Linked DNA regions of Homo sapiens: regions 1 and 3 are each linked to region 2. Evidence: promoter capture Hi-C in 16 types of primary human blood cells and fetal thymus (Javierre and others, 2016). All regions are on one chromosome and are shown on one strand. Each heading gives the region's core, a stretch centred on a gene start or on the middle of the fragment in contact. The rest is flanking DNA. Distances are from core to core; before and after follow the strand shown.

Region 1 (4,816 bases), core at 781-3,280, 200 kb after region 2:
CAACTCAGTCTTTTGATTTCTTCTATCAGAAGTGGCTCAAAAGGAACTAGTCACTGACCTTGTATTTGTAGCCAGCCACATCTACATATCGAAGAAAGAAAGTACTGATGCTAAGGGCTTCTAAGTTGGGTTTGGAGGTGGAAGAGAGGTGCATAGGTTATTGGTAACAAATGTGTCCATTTTTTTCCTCCATTGTATCCCATTAATAGGCTTCTCTTTATTGTTTAAATTCCTGGTGGCAGGAGAGTTTAAACTTGCTTTTAACATGCAGGTGGGCTCAGGAAAATGAAAATAGGCTGTCTGGCAATAACCCAGGCTCCTAGGGTTCTTCTGCAATAGGAATTGTTCTTGTCTCTTCTCCAAAGGGCTAAATGGTGCCGTGTTGAAAATAATACCCCGGTATTTACCTCGAAGTGTTTCTTTAATTGTTGGATTCTGTTTTTAAAAGTCATAATCTGACTTTTGCCTCTGGCAACATAGCAGATAAATATTTTTTAAAATCCTTTTAAACACTGATGTGCTTGGTAAGAAAATAAGGACTACCTAGAGGCTAAAAATACAAGTGAAATCAGGAATCCAGAGAGGTAAGATAGCTGTGAGACTGACTTTACCTTGAGGGCTTTTGCCAAACTAGGTGAACGTTGGTTTTGGTTTACATACCCTCCGTGGCTCAGGATACCAAGGACAAATCCCAGGGTCCTTCCGAGGTAGGCATATGTGGAAGGTTCCCACTCCCAGTCCCCTATATATATACACCTGGGCCCCTCAAGTGCTATATCTGCAGTGTAAGGGTGAACAAGAAAGAAAGAAATCCACCCAGTCCCAAGGACTGGCAAGAAAATGTTCCTGCCTCAAATCTTGGCACTGAGTAGACAGAGAGAAATTTCCTTGAAAATGTATAACCATAGACTGATCGCCAGAAGGAATTGTAGCTCATATGCAAACTACCTGAGTAACCTGAAAAATCTCAAACATAAAATTTAGTTTAACCCAGAATGGTGGAGTCCTTGGGTGCCCGGCACAATCAAGAAGAGCCTATATCCAAACTATATCTCAAAAAATTTTCACAGATTATATTCCAGAAAATGTGAGCTCTTTTAAAAAGAAATCAAAACACCAAAAGGAGAATGCCATGTAAGAACCAACAAAATCTGTGAATAACAAAATGATACCGAATATAAAATATGTATATTTAATATTTTTTAAAAATTAAAAATATGATTGAAAATCAAGAGATTATACAAATGGCCAATCATCTTTATGAATGGCTAAAAAGAACTTCTGAAAATTCAAAATTCAAAACTCAGTGGAAGAGTGTAACAGTAGGTTAGAAATAGCTGAAGAGTTAATTTAAGAGCTGGAAGACGGATTTGAAAAATTATACAGAATGCAACATAGAAAAACCAAAGATGGGAAATGCGAAAGAGATAAGAGATACTTAAATAGAATGAAAATTTGTAGCATATTTCTAATTAGAATACCTGGAAAAGAGGGAGAAAAATAATGGAATAGAGATACCATTTAATGGAAGATAGGTAAGGATGTTCAAGAACTGATGAAAGATAGAAATCCTCACTTTCAGGAAACCTGATGAATTATAAGCAGAATAAATGCAAAGAAATATGTGTGTTTGCATCACAGAGAAATTGCAGAAAACCAGAGAAGATGTTAAAATTATCCAGACATCAAAAATGGATTACCTATAAGGGAATGAAAAGGCTATCAGGTAACATCTCAACAAAGCCAGAGGGCAGGGGAACAAAAGGTTTATCAAGTTGAAAGAAAAAAAATACACGAACATAAGAGTAATTACACAGCATAAAAAACTCTTTAAAATTAGGATAAAATAGACATTTTAGACAAACATAAAGAGAATTTGAGGTATAAGAAGGAATTATGAGGAATAAAGACAGACTCACAATATACAGTATTGTCATATAGTTACGTCAGGAAAGGTTCTAAGGTGTTCTAAGGTTCTTCATGGGGAGGGTTAAAGTGTTGATTATAGACTTTGGCTTAATTATACATTTTAAAATTTGAGATAAACAGTAGAAGAATAAAAGAGATATTTAATTTTTATATGAGCAGAAGAAGAAAATCAGGGTGAAGTATTTGATTCAAAATAAGGAACCAAAAGAGAGAAAGAGGACCACAGAAAAAGGCAAATAAACAATCTAATATAAACTAAATAAATAACATGTTTATGTGGGGGTACTATAAGGACAATGAATGAATCACCACTATATGCAGACATGGGTGTAACTAAATATCGTGGGAGAGCAAAAGAAGAAAGTCTCTGATGAGTACATAGAGTGTGATTCATTTATATAAAGTTCAAAAACATGGAAAACAACATACTGCATAGAAATACAAAGGTGAGATAAACCAAAAGAATGATAAACACAAAATTCAGGCTAATGACGGTCTCTGTGTGGCAATGAGGGAATAGAACTGGAGAGGGACACATGGGAAAATTCAAAATGAAAGACACCGTTCTTTTTCTTTAAATGAATGGATTCATCCGTTTGTTGTACGATAATGCTTAAGCCATCCATAGAGTGGATAAGTGTTCTTTTCTGTCTACTCATTATTTAATAGAAATAATTTAAACATTTATAGTTATTCAAATTTGATTTTTTGTGTGGTGTGAAATAGGTTTCCAATGTTGTTTCATTCTAGGTGGATAGCAGGTTGCCCCAGCATCATCTATCAGAGAGCTATCATTTTCCCATTGGAGTGGTAACTCTTATTATACATCTAATTTTCATATACATTGGCATTTATTTCTGGATCCTGTTTTCTATTTTATTGCCAAATCTGCAGTCACTGATTTGCCTTTTCCTAGGTTGATCTCATATTGATTTTATCACAGCAGCTTTCTGGGTTGAATGTTCTAGTATCTGGGAAGGCACATCCCCCTACAGTATTCTTTCTCTTATTTTCCTTGGTTATCTGGGGGCACTTATTACTTCAAATGAACTTTTTAAGATCATTTCATCTAAGTCTAAAATGATTGCATTAAATTTGTGTATTTATGAGAATGTCTTCCTACCCACGAATAAGCAATGTTCCAATCTTATTTTATGACCTTCAATAGGGTTTTACAGCCATTTTTTATATAGGTCCTATGGCTTTCTTGTCAAATTTGTTTACTAATATTTTATGGTTTTTACCATGATTATGAGTAGGTGGTTTTTCCGTTTTTCACCTCTAATTATTTATTGCTACTGTTGAGAGGAATGATTAATTTTGGCATATTTATCATCTGTCCAACTAGTTTCATAATTCTCTTATAATTTTAATATTTTTTCACTGGAGTCTCTTGGATTTCTAAGTATACAGATACATAATCATCAAAAAGAGATCGTTGTTAGCTGTCTTTCTTTTCCAAATGTTAATGATTATTTCATTGTCTTGTCTTATTATACTTCCTTTATGAATAAGAATGATGATAACAAATATCCCTGTCTGGCTCCTGATTTTAATTGGAAACAGTTAGTGATTGGCTATTTAAGGAGTTTTCTTCTATTTCTTTGTCCTTAGAGTTTTAAATGGAATTATTACTGTATTTTAAGACTTTCTTTATTTCTATTTTCACTCTAGGTTTTGAGATATGTCTTCTTCTTGACCTTGGAAGACTGGAGTCTTAATAGTGACCATTGTCTCCTTAAATTGCCCTGATATTCTTAACCTTGGAAGACTTGACATCTCAATAGTGACCATTATCTCCTTAAATTCTTTCCTGAAATTCTCCTGATTTTCTTGTTGGCTCAAAAATCATAGTTCCCCCAAAAGCCTTCTTTGTGCTGTGCTTGATTCTCGTGGCATTTTGGTATTTTGTTGTCACTATTTAAGGTGTCACTCCTCCTCTGCAGTAGCTGTAATTCTAGTCATTTTTTCAGAGGCTGGAGCTCCCAGTGTATATGGTTCTTTTCCATAGCCTGTTTGAAGGCAACACTGAAGTACCTTAAGGCAGTGGTGGTCTCACAGAGAGTACCTGATAGGGCAATTGCTGACCCTGTGAGCTTCTCATAGAAGTAGACAGGTTGTCAGGCCCCAGTGGAGACCCCTGGTCTCCACATGCTCTTCTGTACTCAGGGGTAGAGCAGACCAGCCCACCCATGCATTCAGGAAAGCCAGCTTCCCAGAACCCTCAGGCCCACCTGTCAGAGGCCTCAGCCACTGCTTGGCTCGGTTGAGCCAGGGGATTGAAGTTGAGAATAGATGAAATCAGATTGTCCGATATTGTTACTAAGCTTTGTCTTGATATTATCCAGTGCATGTTTTTATGGCTGATAATCCCGTTGAGAGACAAGGGCAGATCCTTGAGAGGAGAAATTGAAATGCTCCTGATTAGAAAATGGTAGTTTTCTGTGCTAATATTAGATATTTTAACTGAGCCATTTTTTTCTTTAAAAGTAGAATGAAGGAGAAAAGCATGTTGTTATTGTGAGACACATCTATGACAAGTGATCCAACCAAGGCAAGGTGCGGACCGGGGCGGCCCTTGTATGGCAGGTAAAGGGCCCTGGAAGAATTTAGCTCCCCATCTGTGCTGGCAAGTCTCCAAGGATAAAGTGACAAGGAGCATCACGGCGGCTCACAGAGTAACTCCACAGTGATTCTTGAAATAATTGGAGGCAGCCTGGGGTGTCACGGCCTTGAATCATTAGTTGGTGGAAAAGCAGGAAGGAACCCACGTAGTGGCGCATCAGCGAGACGGTGCAGACCGTGGAGAGCAGCAACATCTGGTCCCCTTGGCTCCAAGACGGAGGGAGCCCAGAGGAGCTGGGGAAAGTGACAAAGGAGCTAAGTA
Region 2 (4,280 bases), core at 139-2,638:
ATGGTGGCCTTGGCAAAGATTCATAGTCAAATCTGAGAGAGGATCACACTGGCTAGGGCCCAGGGTCACTGAGGATGTAGTAGCCTTTATCCTTCTGAGTAAAAATCATGGTATCCACATGGGAAGTCAACCAGGTTTTGTCCAACCCCTCATTTTACAAGTGGGGAAACTGATACCTACAGTAGAGATACGATTGGCTCTGCATTACATAGCTTGGCAGTGATAGAGGGAGAGCTGGACCCCAGACCAAAACTGTGTGATGCCAAGACCGCGCTGGCCCATTCACTGCTGTATCTCTAGCAACTATTAATAGCACAGTGCCTGCTGCATTGGAGGGGTTCAGCGGCAGGAAAATCTGTGGAAGGAAAAAACAAACGTAATATCTCTTTCTTCAGGTCAGCCTTCCATTATTCTTCCCCTTTTCCTTATATTTAACTAACTTCATCCTCAGAAAAATCCCCTCTGTCACCTCCCCCCGGCCAGGAGAGATTACAGAGGCATGGACAGAACACTGTTCACCTAAGCCAGGAAGGCCCCTGGTGCCCACGCAGCCAGAGCAGGAGGCAGGCCCTCAGAAAGTCTCCTGGCCATCAGCCTGGCCTGGGTAGGGGCTCCCTCCTAAGTTTCCTGCCAGACTGAGGCTACGTATGACCATTTATGGGCCCCTAGTTGTTACAAAGGTGTTTCCAGTTCATTCGGGAAGGAAGACTGATCTCAAAAGCTGCTGATGTTAAAGAGGGATTCAGAAAAGTTTGGGAGCCCCAGGCTTGGGGATGGGATCAGGATGGGGAAATATCCTGTTCTAAGGGAGAAGGGACCCTCTGGGCCCAGCTAGGTCAGGTAGGCAAATGTCACTTGGGATTGCCCCTGTATGCCCTGAATGTCTTAAGATTCTGTAGTTGGAAGAGGGAAGATTCAGAAAAGAGAAAACCTTTGCTGTTTCCCAGGTTGTTGGGTCTCAACGGCGGGGGATTTCACCCACTTTGTCCCCAGGGACAGCTCTCCTGCTGTGGTGTACCGGCCCGCCTGGACTCCACGAGCAATGGCCGCGGATTCAGAGACCCCCTGTGCGCCTGGAGAGCACAGCTTTGGGGAACCTGGCCCGGAAAGGAGCCTGGAGGAGAGCAGAGGTGAAGAGGGGCTGTCACTTGCCGAGCTCCACGCTAGCCAGAGGCAGGAGCGCTACGCTGGCCCTCCTCCCTCCGGGCCCTAGATGGCCCCAGCGCTCCGGAGTCATCGCGCCCCGCGTGCGCGCCCGCCTGCTCCGCGCACCTGCCGTGGCCGCCGCGCGGGTCTGACCGGCTGGCGGGCGGGCGGCGCGCACAGGTGGCGGCGATTGGGCAGGCGGGGCCCAGAGGGTGACGTCACGGGCTCCGGTCCCGGCGGCAGAAATAGGGCAGCCGCGGCGGCGGTGGCACAGCAGCGGGCAGCGGCGGCTCAGGGAGCTGGAGCCTCAACAGCCTCCAGCGAGCCCGGGACCCGCCGACAGCCCGAGAAACCAGCCGAAGGACGCGGGGCGGGGTCGCCGCCGCCGCCACGGGGTGCTCCCTCCCTCCCGCCCAAGTCCGGCCACCTGGTCTTCCCCTCGGCCCCGGCCGTCTCAGGTACGCGGGCGCAGCTCCCAGCGGGCGCGGGGAGGGTGCCATGTCGCTGGCGCCGCCACCAGCCGGTCCCGCTGCACCCCACTGGGGTCCTGGCGCCCGCGGCCCCGCATCTTGCTGCAGGGCCCGGCGCGGGCGCTTGCTTGTCCTTACTGCCCGCGCCGGGAAAGCCAAGTTTGCCCGCGGGGAAGGGACCGCTGGGCCAGGGCTCGGCAGGGCTACCCCGGCCAAGGCCAGGACTCGAGGAGAGGCTGGGACGCCGAGGCTCGTGGCCGGGGTCTACGGTGGGGACCGGAGTGACCCGGTTGGCACGCGGGGCGCCACGCAGAAGCGCTCGGGCCGAGCCCGCAGCTCGCGCCCGGCTCCGAAATCCTGCAGGCGCCGTTCTTGGGTTCAGGACCCCGAGCGGCCCCGGCGGAGCCAGGCGAGCGCGGCCCCTCGGCCCGGGCCCGGTGCCCTTGGCTCCGGGTTGGGGCGCCGGGCAGGCATTCTCAGCACCTCCTCCCCGCGGCTTTGCGGGGAAACTTGCGTCTCCTCGCTGCAGCCCAAAGGGCCCGCTGCGCTTCGCCTGGCCCTGGCTTCCCCGGGGTCCGCCGCATGTGAGGCTGGGGAGGAAGGAATCAGGGCACGACCCGACTCCAGGCAGCCTGCGGCGCTGCTTGTGCGTAGCCGGCCGCGGTCCAGAGTGAGCGGCCCGGGGTACCCGCTTGAACGTGTCTAGGGAGCAGTGTGTTGGGGGCGTTCAGCGTTCGGGCTGGGGGCTTGGTCCTAAGAGAGCTTGCACTGTGGATGATCTCCGCCCTCTTTGCGCCCGCAAAACAAAGACGAGTTCTGAGTTTCAGGAGGGACCTGGACGAGGCAGGCACAGCACTCTGCTTTCGGCGCCTGTCGCCTCGAGTTTGGGGACGAGCTGACGCTAGTCTTTGGGGCTCCCTGCAGCCGACAAAGCGGCGCCAACCCCAGGCCTGCCACCTGAGGACTTTGTGCCCGCAACTCTTGCGGGAGCGGAAAGCCGCCGAGGCAGTGGGGTTTCTTGTTTTCCAGAGCGCGGCGAGCCTCCGCGCGGCGCGGCAAGTGCACTAGGAGTGCGCGGGTCAGCGGGGCGGGCCCGGCGAGGTCGGTGTCGCGGCTCGAGAGCGGGTGCCGGGGCGCTGTCCAGCAGCCCTCGCTCGCGGCCGCGGGCCGCCGACACTGATGAATGGCGCGGCCACAGCCCGCCGCTCCCCTCTAGGTGTCGCTTCCGCCGAGCTTTCCTCCAGTGAAAAACAGCGCCGGCAGCTTGGTCTGTTACCTTCGTAAATTTGTTGCAAGCCTGTGCACCAGGAATTGTACTAGATGGGGCCCCCGAGATACAAACATCCGTCCAGGTTCTCTGGGCCAAACGTAAACAGAATTTCAATAGGTGGTGAAGTAACTGCCAGCCAAAATGTTCACCGGGAATGGGCCTGTGTCACAATCTGTGAGGGGAAAAGACGGATCAGTGAGCGACTAGGACTCTTCTTGAAAGTCCTAAGTTATTTTCCTACTGCCAAATTTAGGGGAAACCAGCGATGCTTTTTAATAGTGTCTTCTTAATCCTGGGAGCCAGGCGCCAGTTTCTGTGCCTGCCCCTCTGGCCCCCAGGACAGACTCTGGGTCTGGTTGGCGGGGGGTCCACCTGGGAAGGGAATGGTCGGAGGTGTGAGTGATGCAGCTTCTGAGACTCCAGAGCCACAGCAACTCTCAGGCAGGAGCTCAAGCCGGACATACGAGCAGATGCCCTACAGGGCACGTGTCTGCTTCCCATCTTAGCGTTGTGAGAAGGAGGCACTGCAGCATCACTAGACCATTTCTGCCATACTCTGCTAAATGTTCGCTTTTTCCCTCCCATCCTAGGAAAAAAAGGCACCACCCTCTCCAAAGACTTCAGACTGAGCCAAAGTTCACATAAGAAAATAGTCCACTTTGATGTAATGTATTTAAATTGCTCGTTAGAGTTGTCCTAGTGCTTTTTTCTCTCTTAGACTTTTATGATCATCCTCAATTTTTGTTGATTCTAGGAAAGCTCTTTTTCTTCTGGAAAAGGCCAGCTTGTTTTTCTGGGTATTAGGAGAACTTTTATCCTTTCGGCTGTGCCCTGGAGGTGGGTGAGGGAAGAGGAGGTTGGATTTTTCCACCATGACCAGTCAGTCACTGAGGACTTTTTTTCCTTTTACTAAGGGCCGTAGGACTTTTTAAATGTGACCTTCACGTTATGATCTTTTGTTTGACTTAACACTATATTCAGAGACTAGCATTGAATAGTCATTGTTTCATAAAACTACCTTAACTCCTACCTTGCCTTGTTTGAGTGTTTCTCTGCAAACTCAACCTTCTTGAGTTGCTTATGTGCGGTTAGTTGTGTGCTTCCTAGCTTAATGCAATTAGATATTTCAAGAGCACATCTTTCTTTACATTTTCTGTCTCAATGCATAACATAAGGCATGGAATTTCCAATAAAATAGAACTGCAATCAAGAGCATGTGGTTCTTAAGAGGTATGAGCTGAAGGTTGTAAGGATAAAGGTTATTGGAAGTCACATGTGTGTCTGTGTTAAACGTCAGAGTAAATAGGAATAGAGATTTATACATGGCACATAGAATAATGTAGCCATCTAATTTATCAAGTGTTGGGGAAGAATTAACTAATGATATAGAGTAG
Region 3 (4,340 bases), core at 280-2,779, 180 kb after region 2:
ATTCTCTAGTGCCTAACACTTGGCATGTGGGAAGTATTAATACATTTCTGATGCATGAGAGAATGAAAAGACACACACTTAAAGCCAAATGGCATAAGGAGATTAAAGGAAAAAGAGTGGGCGAAGTTCTGTTTGTCAAAAACAAAAACAGAAAGCAAGGGTAGCAATTTAGAGGGGAAGTAGAATTCAAGGCAACAACACTAAATGAGAAAAAGGGATGCCATTTTATGGTGATAAAATCCATGAAGAAGATGCTGTGGTCATGGAGCTTTATGTACCAAATAACACAATATCAGTGATTACTGTTAGGAATAAAAGGAAAAATAGGAGCACAATCGTAGTGTGAGAGTTTAACATACCAGTAGAACTGAACAGAAAGGCCAGGAGCAAACCTTAGAACATAGTGCTAACCTAACACAGCATTTCAAAACTGTGAGAAAAAGGATCATCAGTTATTTTCAAATGGTACTGGGCCAAATGATTAAGTATTTGTTTTAATAAGGTGGATGACTTCATATTGCAGTTGGATATGGTGGCTCTTCTAAAGCACTTGTCCCAAAACGCTCTTACACGACATTAATAAACATAACAAGAAAAGGATTCTGGAGTCAAATACATCTGCAAAACACCATGGTAAGCAAAGTTAAGCAGATATTTTTATTGCAGGACTTTTAACCATCTTTGGTGCTACTGTGCATGCTACAATCCCAAGAGGGAACTATAGCACATGCTATTCCCAGAATTACTTGAGTATTTTGTGAGACTGGTGTTTCATGTTCTGCAGAAATCACTTGGGAAATGGTGGCTTAAAAAGTTAAATAAAACACATAAAATCATAAAAGACCTCAAATAAATATGAGCAGATATTTTTGTACTTTTACTAAGGTGAGTGGGGCTTTCCTAAACCACATAAAAAAGGAAGATACAATTAGAGACATGGTTGATATATTTGATGACATAAAATCTTTAAGCTTCTGTATATCATAAGGCAAATGAAAAACTGGGGAAAAATAGTTGGAGTTATGAATGACTTTACTATAGAAAGAGCTCCTAGTAATCAATAAAAAAGATGACCATCCACATAGAAAAGTTTGTGAAGAACATGAACAGAGGGCACACACACACACAGACATTCACATCCATCCACCAAATACACATCATTATTAAATATTAGATTCTGAACCTTCCTAATAATCAAAATAAGGCAAATTAAAACAGTTAACAATATATTTTTGGCCATGAAATCAGCAATTTTTAATGATAAAATTCAGTTTTAGCAAGGATAGAGTGAAAGGGGACTCTCAAATGTAGCCAATGAAAATATAAAATGGCACCAACTCTGTGGCCAGTAATTTGGCAGTACTTATTTATTAAGTCTCTTTTTAAACATGCTTTTGATTCAGTAATTCCACTTCAGGCAATTTATCACAAGGAAAAAAATCAGAGATTGCCTAAAGATTTATGTTCAGGGATGTTTACTGTAGCTTTGTTTGTCAAAGCAGAAGTTTTGGAAGCAGCCCAAATGTCAAGCAGTGACTGGTTAAAGGAAATATGGTGTGCCCCATATGATGAGATATTATTCAGTCATTAAAAATTATGACTTGTGGAAATAGTCACAAAAAGAATGTTAAGTTTAAAAGCATGATATAAAACTACTTCCAGATTCCAATTTTATAAAGTACATATGTATATTTATGTAACTGGAAAAGACTAAGGTGAAATATAGTAAAATGTGGAGTTATTCTCTCTGAAAAACATTCCATTTATTTTATAACATTCCCCCACAGCTCCTCATCTAATCCATCAAACCAAGTCTTATCAACTCTACTTCCAAAGCGCACCTTGAGTCTCGTCTGCTTCTCTCATCACCACTACTATGCCCTAGTCAAAGCCACCATCATCTTTCATCTTTAGAAACTTAGAAGCCTCCCATTGGTCTCCCTCCCTCCCCTTTTGCCCCGTTGCAGACCAATCTCCATGCAATAGCCATAGTAATCTGTTTTCAATGTAAATCAGATTGTATTACCTTCTGCTTAAAACCCTCCAGGGCTTTCCCATCACACCTTGAAAAAAAATCCTAAGCTTTTCCCTTTGCCATGGCTCGGAGGCCCCTGGAATCCCACTGCTGCCTCCCTATCTGACCTCATCTCCTGCCACGCTCCCTTCCCGCCTTGCTTCAGCCTTTCTAGCCTCCCCTCTTGGCCCAGACACCTGCACTGGCCTTGACACCAGCTCTTCCCTCTGCCTGCCGTGCTTCCCCCAGCTCTTTACAGAGCTGACTTCTCCTGAGGTCTCAGCTTAAATCCACCTCCTCCAAGAGGCCTCCTGATCACCCAGAGTTGCCACCCTGACTTTACCTATCGAATCAATGTATTTTAATTGTCTGCACTCACGACCATCTGATTTTTTTTCTTAACTGACTCCTTTCTGTATTGTCTAAGCTTTGCCCATGAGAATATAAATTCCATTGCAGGCTGCTATATTCACTTAGAACACTGCCTGGCACTTAGTAGGCAATAAATGCTTGCCACATGAATGAAATAGAAATCAAACCAAAAACATTTCATTGAAACTGAAAAAGGTAAATCATGCCAAACAGCTTGACTTACTAACAGTGCTCAAAAAAATCAAATACTTTGGAAAATCTCCAGGCTTGAAGGGGTGCCCTACCCTTGCGTGGGTACCCCGTTGCCAGTTAGTGGGTAATCCTTCCCCCGTCTAACCCACCAGACCAGAAAATGACACTAATATGGACAGGCAGGTGGAATGGATTTGCACAGTATCCCTTACTTCAAAAACAAATAGGACTATTAAGCTTTTGCAGGTCTCTGGGGAACTTGTCCAGGTTTTGGTGAATTCCAATGAGCTCTAGTTTTAAACATGCAGGATTTCAGCTCTGGCTTTTAGTTCACTGAAAAAGAGAACAGCTTAGATTTTCTTTGCCTTGCAACTCCTGAAATTTCTCTTTCCTTCTTTGACAGCCTGAGGAGTCAGGGGCAGAGAGAATAGAGGAGCCAGATGCCTTTTAATGAGAAAGAACCCAAGAAGCCTTCTGCACTCTCTTTGTAAGCCATTTCTTAGTACTGCTTAAAAGATCTGGGCCATGCCACACATAGCAAGGCACAGAAGCATATGAAAAATTGCCAGATTTAGTGCTTGTGGCTTGGGGTGTACTGCAAGGATCTCTAAAGATGGAGATTTGTTATGTTGCTGTGGATAAATTTGAATCAAGTGTAATCCAATGCTGCTGTGTGAAAATCAGTCAGTTACCAAGTGAGTGGGCCTCGCCAGCCACCCACCCACCCAGCATCCTATCTTCCATAGGTTTCCACTTGACACTGGAATATAAGATTTGTAAGGAGCAGATTTCTGCCTATTTGGTTTACCACCAAATCCCTGGTGCCTAGAACAGCACATGCAGATAGCAGATGCCCAATAAATAATTGTTGAATAAGTTAAAGGAGAAGTAATATTTTCCCCATTTACTGAGCACTCACTGTGTGCCTCACCTGGCTCAAGTCTCATAGCAGCTCGAACTCTTAATTCTCACACCACCCCCACAAGGTAGGTTTGGCAGAAGGGAGCCTGAGAAATTAGGTACTACAAATCTCTCGTGCAGTGCATGTCTATTTGAAAGTTTATTTCCTTTGCAGGTTATTGTCTGATGTTCATGGCATTGGGTAGATATTGTGGGAGAGGCAGAAATGTCATTATGAAGAGAATTTCTCTCCATTAGCTAATGTTTAGAGAGGCATTGTGACATACAAAAAGACCATTGGTCCTGGACTTGTCACATCTGGATTCCAAATTTACCTCCTTCACTAACCTGTGTGAACTTCAACAAATCACAACCTCTCTGAGCCTCTGTTTTCTAATCTATTTTTTTTAAAGATAATGAAACCAGTCTTGCCCTGCTTGAATGGAGGTATAGTGAAGTGCAATGACAGAACAGATGTGATTGACAACTTATACTTACACCCTCTGTCTTACTGAATTGTTATTTAACTCTCAACTGAGGTAGGTCCATCAGTGTTTGGCTCAGTTCATGGGGATTTGTGTCTACCCTTGGGTACTTGGATTTTGCATATAAATGAGTTCTTCTATATAAAATGGTTCCAATGTATCTTGCACTTAATAAATGCTAGTATCACTATTGTAATTATTAATGAAAAAAACCCCAAGGATTCATTCTGGACCCTGAATACAATTTTTACCTAGACCCAGGTGGCCAATGCGTTTTGTTTTGTGTGGTATTCAGGTTATTTACTGATGTGTAACAAATTACCCCCAAACCCTAGCAGCTTAAAACAACTACCATTGTATTTTAGTTCATGATTGTG

What was found. The method cuts DNA at HindIII sites, captures the fragments that hold promoters and counts their contacts. A CHiCAGO score of 5 or more calls a contact.
Region 1: a contact is called between a fragment that was not itself captured here and the fragment with the promoter of FSTL4 in region 2, in 1 of 17 cell types (M0 macrophages). The highest score is 5.2, in M0 macrophages.
Region 3: a contact is called between a fragment that was not itself captured here and the fragment with the promoter of FSTL4 in region 2, in 2 of 17 cell types (endothelial precursors and M0 macrophages). The highest score is 6.1, in endothelial precursors.

The regions. Positions count from the first base shown.
Region 1 is chr5:133,410,321-133,415,136 of GRCh38, reverse strand. All of the region lies in intron 3 of FSTL4 (follistatin like 4), which reads left to right. Among named protein-coding and RNA genes, the nearest start is that of MIR1289-2, 15 kb to the left of the region's middle. The HindIII fragment of the contact is 4,456 bases long and covers 1-4,258 here.
Region 2 is chr5:133,609,649-133,613,928 of GRCh38, reverse strand. It overlaps FSTL4 (follistatin like 4), which reads left to right and starts at 1,388. Exons shown (of 16, transcript NM_015082.2): 1 at 1,388-1,604. RefSeq lists a silencer at 2,657-2,706. The HindIII fragment of the contact is 11,171 bases long and covers 1-4,280 here.
Region 3 is chr5:133,431,706-133,436,045 of GRCh38, reverse strand. All of the region lies in intron 3 of FSTL4 (follistatin like 4), which reads left to right. Among named protein-coding and RNA genes, the nearest start is that of MIR1289-2, 6.2 kb to the right of the region's middle. The HindIII fragment of the contact is 1,111 bases long and covers 974-2,084 here.